Regions from separate parts of the Homo sapiens genome. Here region 1 is linked to region 2. The links are contacts of gene promoters, found by promoter capture Hi-C in blood cells and fetal thymus (Javierre and others, 2016). All regions are on one chromosome and are shown on one strand. The core of a region is centred on a gene start or on the middle of the fragment in contact, and the rest is flanking DNA. Distances in the headings are between cores, read along the strand shown.

What was found. The method cuts DNA at HindIII sites, captures the fragments that hold promoters and counts their contacts. A CHiCAGO score of 5 or more calls a contact.
Region 1: a fragment that was not itself captured here is called in contact with the fragment with the promoter of DKK3 in region 2 in 1 of 17 cell types (neutrophils); the score reaches 5.2 in neutrophils.

The regions. Positions count from the first base shown.
Region 1 is chr11:12,285,105-12,290,842 of GRCh38, forward strand. It overlaps a transcript of MICAL2 not described here. Among named protein-coding and RNA genes, the nearest start is that of PARVA, 90 kb to the right of the region's middle. The HindIII fragment of the contact is 155 bases long and covers 2,204-2,358 here.
Region 2 is chr11:12,004,320-12,009,875 of GRCh38, forward strand. It overlaps DKK3 (dickkopf Wnt signaling pathway inhibitor 3), which reads right to left and starts at 4,307. Exons shown (of 7, transcript NM_001018057.2): 1 at 4,051-4,307. The coding sequence starts at 4,263. RefSeq lists an enhancer at 2,559-3,494. The HindIII fragment of the contact is 4,877 bases long and covers 3,261-5,556 here.

The sequences.
Region 1 (5,738 bases), core at 1,031-3,530, 280 kb after region 2:
GGGGAGTGCTGATTGGTCAGGTCAGAGATGAACTCATAGGGAGTCAAAGCTGTCCTCTTGCACTGAGTCAGTTCCTGAGTGGGGGCTAAAAGACCAGATGAGCCAGTTTATCAATCTAGGTGGTGCCAGTTGAACCTCTGAGCGCAGAGTCTGCAAAATATCCCAAGCACTGATCTTAGGCTTTACAATAGTGATGTTAGCCTCAAGATGCAATTTGGGAAGGTTCGGAATCTTGCAACTTCCAGCTGCATGACTCTTAAACCACAATTTCTAATCTTGCGGCTAATTTGTTAGTCCTGCAAAGGCAGTCTTGTCCCCAGGCAGGAAGGGGGTTTGTCTGGGGAAAGGGCTGTTATCGTCTTTGTTTCCAAACTAAACTATAAACTAAGTTCCTCCCAAAGTTAGTTCAGCCTACGCCCAGGAATGAACAAAGACAGGGTGGAGGTTAGAAGCAAGAGGGATTGGTTAAGTCAGATCTCTGTCACTGTCATAATTTTCTCAGTTATAATTTTTGCAAAGGCATTTTCACAAATGGAGTAAGGGAAAGAGAGGAGCTGAAGGAGCTGGTCTTGAGGAAGGAAAGCCCCCAGGTAGTAATTGTCACCTGTGCTCCACAGCCTGGCTGCTAAGAAAGAGTTCCACTGTGAGACCTGGCAGGGAGTGGAATATCTAGGACTGTTTCTAGACAGAAAGAAAGACAGAGGGCTGGGCTAGCTGGGCCTTGGATTTAGGGTCCTGGATTCAGACCCTCCCTGCGTCCATCTCCCACACCCACATCATGCCCTTGGGCTTCCTTTCCGTTCATGCTTCCTGGCCCTGCCTGTGTGCACATTCAGATGTTCACCGTCCCCATCCTTTCTCTCCAGCAGTGATGGAGGCGCAGGGGCCTGAAGCCTGGGAATGCATCTGCAGGCCTTGCCTGGGAACAGGGAACACGTGGACCCCACTGCCCACTCTCACACCCTAAGTGACCAAGACCTGTTTTTCTTCTGCATGTGATGTTCATTTTGCTCAGCTAATCCTCAAGGCCCAGCTGGCAGAGGGGTCTTCCACAGGAAGTACAGTGTCCCGCAAATATGTTTCCCTTGGAACCAGGCCAAGGGAGGGCCACAGCAATGATGGTCCACAGCCTCAATTAAACCTGGTTTCCAAAGGGTTTGGGGGGCTCTGTGGGGAAAGGGGAGGCAGAGAGTAGAACTTCCTGCAGCTTCCTGGCTTCAATCAGAGCAGCTCCAGTTTTTAATGTATTACATATATGGAACATTGATGGCCCGTGATGACCTTAGCTTTAAATAACTGTTCTGACATGAATGAATATGTGCATGTACGTATGTACACATGCATGTATAAATATGTCTACACATATGCATATACGCATAGATGCATGTAGATGCTCACTGATGATCTTAGTAATGATGGTTCATAATTTGAGGCATTCTCTGAGGGTGGTACCTGTCCCATAGCAGGGTCTCAAATATTTGATGCCAGGTGTGGTGGCTCATGCCTGTAACCCCAGCACTTTGGGAGGCCGAGGTGGGAGGATCACTTGAGCCCAGGAGTTTGAGACCAACCTGGGCAACACAGTGGGACCCTGTCTCTATAAAAAATAAAAATTAAAAAATTATCTGCGTGTCGTGGTGCATGCCTATAGTCCCAGCTACTCGGGAGCCTGAGGTGGGAGTATCATTTGAGCCCGAGAGGTCGAGGGGGCAGTGAGCCATGACCCCACCACTGCACTCCAGCCTGGTGACAAGCAAACAAAAACACAAAAATATTTGATGTGTGAACAAATGAAAAGTTTGGTAGAGTGTGTTGTGGGGACAGCAGTATGGTGTGAGGGAAGGAGAGAGTTCAGTCTATTATAATCATTAGTCTATTGACTTGTGGTAATTGAGCTATAGGAGATAAATTCCTACTTACTCTACACATTTAATGGACTCTTCCTCCCACCCCATCTTCCCTGTCCCTTTCTTTTTCCACAGCAGCTCTGCAACGGGCCAATAGCTTCCAGTCTCCAACCCCAAGCAAATACCAGAACTGGAGGAGAGAATTCTGGTGGAGTGAGTCACTAGCTCTCTGGGGGTGGGAGGCTGGGGCTGGGCAGAAGATCTCTGGTTAATTCTCAGGGGCAGCCGTTCTCATTCCTTACATGGTATCTCTCTGGCATGGCCTCCTGGTTGTCAGAGGCAAGAAATAAAATATAAGCTTGACTTTATTTCCACTGCTGACTAGAGGGAGCCTTTTCCAAGGGACTCAAGATCTTCCCATCCCCCTCCACCCCACCCCTGGCTCAGGAATTATGGAGCCTTAGGATTCTACAGTTTCACCCAGACAGGGCCTTAGCCATCATTGCCTCTAAGCTTTTTGAAATACAGATGAGTAAACTGAGGTTCAGGAACTCTATGATTTGATTCTGTACACTGGAGTGAGACTGGGCCATCAGATTAACGGCCTCACACAAAACAGGATGCTACACACAGACACCCACACATCCACACACACACACATGCACACGCACACACACTCACACCCCTACACATACACACACATACACACCTGCTCCTTTTTCTGAGTCACCCTTGGTCCCAGTGTCCTGGGGAAGAGCAGGGCTGTGGCAGGTGCTGAGGCGGCAGGCCCTGCCAGGGGGCGCAGTGAACACGCACAGTCTCACAGCATCTAGGCAGGCCGGGGATCCAGGGACTGCAGCACTCACTGAGCAGAGTTACCTCCTCAGGCCCTGAGCGAGGGGCAGAGACTCTTCATCCAGTTCCAGGCTCATCGCTGCCTTCCACCTCCCCCCACACCCACTCCCTCTCCAGCCTCACCCTAGGAGAGGAGGACCCAGAAAGGCCTTGGCTTAGACAGGGGTTTCTACCAAGAAACGTTGTTGCAGTTGGAACTGAGCCCTGGTCTTCCTTCCTTCTGAGTCAAGGCTCCCAGCCAGTGAGTCATTCCCCCACCATCCCCAGACGCACCACCGTCACACCAGGTCAGGCTGGGACAGGGGCACCTTGGGAGCAGGACCCAGGGCTGCACTCTTGGGCAGGCCACTTCATCTGAGGACAGCCTAGAGTCACTCCTGAATCCTCTGACAGCCCCCAGCGGCGACAGCAGAGGGCAGAGGAGCTAGCATTGCCACACATGGGTCATCGCCTTTACTGCCCTGCTCTGGCCCTCCCCAAGTCCCTGGAAGCCTGCTGCCCAGGCCCGGACTATATGAGTGTAGGGTCCATCCCAAGGCTTCCAGCCCACTCTACTGTGTGCCACCAGTGTGGGGGATCAGTCCCTCCTCAGGAAGCTCCCAGCCTGGGGTGAGAGCAGGGAGGCTGGTGGGAGACCCTCCCAATAGGGCTGGGTCGCTGGGGGAGGTGCAGGAGCAAGAGGACTGCTGAGCAGCCCCATGGTGTCTGGGATGGGCCTGGGAAACTCAGCCTTTAGTTATCAAGGAGTATTGCACAGCGTTTCTCGAGAGTATACAAAAGCTGCTTTGAGGGCAGGGCTTGAGTTTTGATCATTTCAATCAGCCTAGTGTCTAGCATGGTCTGGCCCGGAGGAGGAACCCAATCCTTGTTTGCTGAATCAATGAATGAAGTAAGGAACCAAGGAGCGAGCTGGCTGGACTGCGTACAAAGGGAGGACATGGATTCAGGCCTGCTCAGGCTGCCGCCCCTAGAGGGCGCTCCAAGACTTTGAGGGGGATTTGAGCCTTGCAAAACCTCCAAGTTCTGGGAAGCTGCACCATGGAGTCCCAGTCTCCCGAAAATCCCCAGAGCTGAAAGCCACGAGAGCCATCTTTTTTATTGTCTTTACTTTGCCCAAAAGAAAACCTCAGGGAGCAGGGCTGGCATTGCCATTGGGAGCAGAATGCATGGTACCATCCCTCCTGTCCAGAGGCATTACTGCCCCATCACAGCTGGTTCTGGCCCCAAGCCCCAGGTGGGAGGGCCGGAGGGGATATGTGGCTGCCCTGGGCACCCTCCCCAGCTGATCATGCTGCCAGATGACCTCTAGGATCTACGAGAAAGGTTGCTGCTGCCAGAGGGCCCAGAGAGGAGGTAGCACAAGCGCCTGACCCAGAGGCAGCCTGGATGCTGAAACTCAGGCGCTGGTGTGCGCATCAGCCTCCTTCGCACAAAACAACCCTAAGGGCCAGCTGCACGTGTGACTGAGACCCCTGCAGAAGGCAAGGCAGCCCCCGGTGGGCCATACCAAGGTTTCAAGGAAACGGCCAGCAGAGGGGGATGTGAGTTGGCCAATGAGGAGCTCTTGGCTCAAGAGTTGGAGAAATCCTGGCTGGGTAGAGTGTGCAGCCCCCTCTGGAATGGGCCAGGGCTTCAGCAATGTCTTTACTGGACGCGGCTTGAGTGCGTGAGAGGGTGGGAAACTAATGGAGTTCATATTTTGCTGACAACTAGCTTTTACTTTGTGTCCTGTGCCACTGGGCACCTCTTGTTTTTTTTTGTTTTTTTTTTTTTTCTTCTTGAGATGGGGTCTCACTTGGTCACCCAGACTGGAGTGCAGTGGCGTGATCTCAGCTCACTGCAATCTCCGCCTCCCAGGTTCAAGTGATCCTCCCACCTCAGCCTCTCGAGTAGCTGGGACCACAGGCGCGCACCACCATGCCTGGCTAATTTTTGTATTTTTGGTAAAAACAAGGTTTCGCCATGTTGGCCAGACTGGTCTTGAACTCCTGAGCTCAAGTGATCCATCCACCTCGGCCTCCAAAAGTGCTCTGATTACAGGTGTGAGGCACCATGCCTGGCCAACTGGCAATCTCTTTTTAGCCCATGTTATCTGCTCAACCACCCCATGAAGCTGCACCAGACAGCCCACTTTTTGGATGAGGAGACAGGGGTTAAGTAACTTGCTCAGAGCCAGGCAGCTGGTATGTGTGTGAAGGAGTGGACTTCCAGGCTCCCCTTCACCATCTTCTGAGAGAACCCCAAGACACAGTGGGCATCAGGAAGGGTAGGTTTCTCATCACCTCTCTCCCCAGGCTGTGCCCACCTCCCAAGCAGTGGCTTGAATGGCAGCCCAGGGACAAGGGGCTCGGCCTGAGCTGGGGCTTTGCTTCCCCCATCTCCTCAAGCCCTGCTGGAGTTCCATCTTGAAGGCAGTGCATGAGGACCACATGTGGAGAGAAAGAGACCCCCTAGCAGGGGTGGGAGTGGGGATTAGAGAAAGGAGAAGAAGGGAGTGGCTTCTGGGTCATGACCTCGTGAGACCTGAGGTGTTTCTGTCAGGCTTGTTTCCTGAGGTGGCCCTGGCTTCCTGTCAGGAAGTCCCTGAGGGATCCTCAGGGGGAACAAAAAGGCAGTCTGTTGAGCTGAGGGGACTTGAGGCAAGTGAAGGAGTTTGATTCAGAAGATGGCAGAGAGGGAGAATGAGGGTGCAAGGAGGAAGGGAAGAAGGAATTTGGCAAACTGAGGACAAGAACGGGAAGCAAGGCAAGGACTGACTCACAACTTTTGCCTTTTTAGGCTTGAACCTTCTAATCGTGGGCTGCGATGGGGGTGCGGTAGTGGGAGGCAGGCCAGCCGCCTCCCCAGCAGCTCCTTCCTGCCGCCCTCAGATCAGATCTGTTCCCAGAATTACCTTTTCCCTCCAAAGCTTTCTGCGAGGCCTCCCTCTGGGAGCTTGCTGACCGTGTGCGTGTGGTGCCATCTGTTCAGAGCCCACGGCTGGGACACACAGTCGCACATGTTCGCATTGATGTATGGGGGAAGGCAGGACAGAAT
Region 2 (5,556 bases), core at 3,057-5,556:
TACAGCAAGTTCCAGAAGGCTAGCGGGAAATAATATAAAGAGTAGATCAGAAAGAGAGGGGAGTCAGGAAACTGGCTAGAATTAGGTCTAGGAGATGGGAGCTACTTCTGGGTAGGGACCTTCTAGGTGGGAAAGACTCTAAGTAAGTCTAGAAGGATCAAGCCACTGAGAGATGGCCACTGGATGAGTCAAGTCATTGCCTGCAGCATCCTCGGAGAGGAACACAGTGGAAAGTACCAGGATTCTGGAGTCAGACAAGGTGGGTTCAAGTCCTGGCTCTGCCACAAAGTAGCTGTATGACTTTAGGCAAGATACCAAATCCCACTAAACCTCAGCTTGCTCATTTGTAAAATAGGGATGTCCTACTTTGTTGAGTAGATATAAGAATTAAGGACCATGCAGTAGATATAAGAATTAAGGCATGAAATACACTATCTGCCACACAGCAAAGATGAAATACACAGCTGTTTTTATCCCGTTGCCCTTTAAGAAGGCAGTTTCAAAAGAAGCCAGTTTGTTTTGCCAGAGTTCTGAAGGGAATGGGTAGCTAGAAGCAGGAAGAGCAAACGTTGATATCATGTGTTTGAAGAGCTTGCCAACAAAGGGGAGAAGAAATGGGGCTGAGATAGAAGACAGAATGGGCAAGAAAATGACTTTCCTTAAAAGCAAGAGACCTTGCCCTCAGTTACCACTCTGGTTAGTGATAGAAAAAAACGCAGCTGGGAAGAGAAGACTGAAGGTGCTGGAGAGGACCCACCCAGAAGAAGAGAATGTTTTAGTGTTTTTAAAATTCCCATCGGGATCAGTTTGGCTTTCAAATAATTGACAAGTTGCCAAACCTAGAATTTGCTCTGGGCTGAGCAGATAGTCTTTTTATAAAACTTTTCCCCCCAGCTCAGCCACTGGTTATTTCAACAGAATGAGCTAACGGTTCTTAAATGGCACCATGAACTAAAAGTATAGTTTACAATGGAAATTTCAACCGCAACTATTATTGCCACTAGCAAGAGAAACTTAAGTCTGAAGCAAAAGGAGCTGTTTCGTAGAGGAGGAATGTGAATGCTATTAAAAATGGCACTTATACTAGAAATAGGTGAGGCAGTAAGAACATTCTAAAATGAGTGAGTTACAGAGCTGGCCATGAGGGGAAGAGAAACAGAGTGGTTATATCTTCAGAATACATTGATTGGTAGCATATAGAATAGTAACACAGGAAAGTAGGAATATCCCAGATTGAAGCCATTTGAAGATATGCTTCTTCCAATAATGACCGTACAAGTAGAGCTGCTTTGTCCTTCCCCTTAAGAAACTTCAACAGCTTGATTCAGCTGGAACATTGAAAATGCCAGGAAGTTACTTGAAAGGAGATTCATGATGCAACTATGTAAACAAATAATGCATCTGGCCCAGGTCCTTTTTGATTTTTCCCCTGAACAATGACTAAATACCAATTATCCTGTGTCTATGAGATTTAAGGGGCATTCTGGCAGTCTCCATAAAAAGTTAATACTAATAACCACAGTCTATAAACAATCTATTGTATTCTATTTTTGAAGATATCTAAAAGATACTTTTAGTATTTTAAGATTAATTTTTAATGGTTTAAGATATTTTAAAAGATAGATTCTATTGAGAATCTATCAGACACTGGTGGTGTTTTGTTATCATTCATACTGCTACTAGTAATATGATGATAATGATACCTGTTACTTATTTACAACCAACCATCATGTCATCCTTACAGCCACCTCACAATGAAGCTACCTGTATTACACGTGTTTTACTTAACCCCATTTTAGGCAGTCAGCGGATGGCCTGCCCTAGAACCACAGGCATCACAAGCTCAATTTAATGTGAAGCTGCAGAATTAAGAGACATTGGGGCCTATATGACTCCCTTCACCCTTTAATTGTTCCATGTCATGATAGTTTCACAATCACAGGAAACAAAGATCATGGATCTTGGGCTCTTGACCTGACCAGTGGATATTCAGGGATAGCTGCCCAACTCACTGATTTGCTTTACTTGCAGCATCTCATTTAATTCTCACCTTACCCTAAGAGGTGGACATTTCTCCACTTCAGACTCGGAACGCCACTGCCAGTAAGTGGCAGAGCAGGGACTGGATGAGGGAAGATCAGTCCCCACTGCCTCTTCTCCTGCCATGGTGTTCAACCTCTCTCATCCTGTACCCACTGCCAGCGAGGACACCTCTGGGAAAGAGTGGGGTAGAAGTGACAGCCCACATCTCCTCTGGTGGCAAACTTCAACCCCCCAACCTACACAGAGCCACATCTAGAGGGAGGAAAGCTGGGGTCTTGGCAAAATCCAGTCTGGATAACGCCCATGGAGAAGACCCCGTCACTAGGTCCTGCAGGGCCCCACACTGCTCTGCTCAAGAAGAGACTGAAGAGGCCCTTGCTGCTCTCTCTCCTCCCTCAGCAGAAGCTAACGTCAGAGGACCACGCTGCAGACTTTCTGAACAGTGGTGGGCACAAAAACATAGAGGTGACTTAGTCAGTCTTACCGGGAATCTGTGTGCAGGAGGGAAAGTCCTAGAACCTGGATAAGGAAAGCAGATGGCCTGCCCTAGAACCAGAGGCATCGCAAACTCCACTTAATTTGAAGCTTCAGAGTTAAGAGACATTGGGGCCTATCTGAATCCCTTCACCCTTTAATTGCTCCATGTCATGATTGTTTTGCAATCACAGGAAACAGAAAGATCATGGGTCTTGGGATCTGGGCCTGTCCAGTGGATATTCAAGGACAGCTGCCCATTTCACTGCCTCCCAAGCCAGTGTCCCCTTCACTGCAAACTCCACAGGCTAACTGTTGTGGAGTGGGAGGGGAAATAGCCCCAAACTACAAAGGGCTGCGGGGAGAAAGCAACTTCCCCCTGGAGACAAGGGCCAGCAGTTAAGGCTTTGCCCAAGGGGGATACCAAGCTGGAGACAGCAGGGATGTGAAGCCAGACCAGGGGCCAACCAGCCTGGACATTGGTTTCCTGCTGCCTCCTTCACTAGGACGGCTGGCTCCTCTCTATAGACACAGGCTACAGACAGATTGGGCCCAACAGCGCCCTCGTCTACCCACCCCAGGCACCAGGGACAGCTCCCCGCACCTGGACAGAGAGGGCTGGGCCAGTGACATCTCCTGCCCAGGTAGCCCTGGGCATGCGTGGGTGACCATCACAGAGGACAGAACAAGATGCCACCCACAGTGTTTAGACCTGGAGGTGATGGAGGGCAGAAGCTAGGCAAAGCTTTGCTAAGGTACGTGGTATCTGATAATAGTTGCTAAATACTGCGCACCTATTATTTGCCAGGTGCCCACACATATGACATTTAGTTTTCACAGGAAACTGAGGTGCAGGATATTAAGTGATTTGCCCAATGTCACCCTGCTACTGAGTGGCAGAGGAGGACCTGAGCCCAGGACAACTGCGAAGCACCGTTGGGTGGAGGGGGTATTGCCTCTCACATCCTCATCCGCCACTCATACAGTGCTGAGATTTAGGATTTCCATCTTCCCTCTCTGCCCCCACATTGCGTGAGAAGCAAGACAGCCCAGACAGACTGCCAGCAAAGCTCAGGGCTCTTTGCCTCTTTGTCCCTGCATGGCATCCTAACAAGCTCAAAGCATAACGGACAAGCTAGAACTTGGCGATGCCTGGAGCTTGTCCCGGGTTTCTGTGAAACCACAGTGCTGGAATACCAGGGGCCCTGCAAACCTCTGCTGACAATAGGGAAGGCCAACGGCATGCCTGACGCCAACTGCAGGCAGGTGGTGGCCCCAGCTACCTAGGGAGGGTCCAGTGCAGAGCCTCTCGGTGGACAGGCTCAGATCCAGACTTTTTGGCAAGGAGGCAAAACGAGGCGGGAGTAGGGATCACCGTGCGCTGCCTCCAGGTCACTCCGCATCTGCTGTCGGCCCTTCCCAGGCCCTGCGCGGGACCCGAGGTCCCTGGCCAGCGCTCTTCCATGCCTTCCCAGACTTCGCTGCCCCCAGTCTGGCGCTTCTCAGAGCCCCGCGCCGCCAGGGCGCACCCACCTCTTCCACCGCGCTGCGCAATTTGTGCTGCGTGTCCTCCATCAGTTCCTCAACCTCGCGGAACATCTCATTGAGGGTGGCCTCCTCCTGCGGGTAGCTGAGAGCCGGGCCGGGCTTGACTGGAGCCGAGGTCGCCGTCGGAGCGGGCGCGGGGGCCGTGGGGACCGCCGCCGCCAGCAGCAGGCACAGCAGGGTGGCCCCAAGCCGCTGCATCTCCGCTCTGCGCCCGCAGCCGCCGCCTGTGTGTCCCGGAACGCGATCAGAGGCGCGCGGACCACCCCCCTCGCTGGGCCCGCCGCCCCGCCCCGTTCCGCCCCGCCGCCCGCCCCTGGCGCCCCTCTTTCCCGCACCCGCCCGGAGACGGGAGGAAACCGAGGCCCCTGAAAACGCAGCTCCCCTACACCCGAAAAGACGCGACCCCACCCGCTCCAGCCCGAGCCCCGATCGCCCCAGGACCCCGCACCCCCATCCTCGAGCACAAGCTGAGCTCTGCTCCTCACCTGTGATGCTGGAGCCCTCGCCAGAGCAACCGAACCCGGATCCTCTACGCTAATAGCTCCCAAGCCCCAGCTCACCTAGACTCTGTCCCCGGTTCAAACCCTAGCCCCTCCTCGACCAGGTCAGAGTGCCCGACCCCCACTTCCACCTCAAGCCTCTCTCAGCCCCTACCTGGGGTGGACCAAGCACAGGTCAGCCCCCTCCCCTTGGCGTCGGGTCCTACTCGAGCGCCCCGCCCCACATCCACCAAGAGAGGCTGAGCTCAGCAGAGTCGTCCCCTCCCCCGCCGCCGCCCCTCACCCACCCCGACTGGACCGAGTTGCGCTGCGGGCCGGACTGGATCTGCTCGCTCCCGCCGGGAGGCCGCCGGGCTGCGGGTGCAGATGCGGGAGCGGCGCGGTGGGCGGGCCGCGGGTGCGGGAGCGCGGCGGGGTGCGGCAGCGCCGGTACCCGAGGGAGCCCGCAAGACGCGCCCCGCCCGCCCACCAGGCTCCCTCTCCGCCCCCGCCCCGAGCCCCGCCCGCCCACCAGGCCCACCCCGCCCCGCGGAGGGGCCGCAGCCCGGCCATTGGCCAGCCGGGGCGCCGGCCACCTCACGCCCCACGCCCCACGCCCTCCTCTTCTGCCTCAGCGACCAGCTCTACCGAAGGCAGCCATCTCCTTCACTGCCTGCCCCTGCGCCCGCGGCATCCCAGGCCCGTCTTCTCTGGCCTCCAGGCTTGCAACAGCCCACCGAGGTTGGGGGTAGGGGGAATGTTCCTCAGTCCCACCTTGGTCTTTCCAAGCCAACCTCTGTCCTGTGAAATCCTCAGGAAAAATCCCAGCCCCCAGCCTGGCATTCAAGCCATCACCGCTGGCCTTAGTCTGCCGTGATTGACACCGTGCTCCAGCCAGGATAACGCACTTGCAGCTCCTGGAATGGGAGAACGTCATGAGAAAGTCAGCAAGCTCCTCAAGGGTGGCATAGAGGAGTGGTCAGGACCAGACACCTGCAGCCAGCTCTGCTCC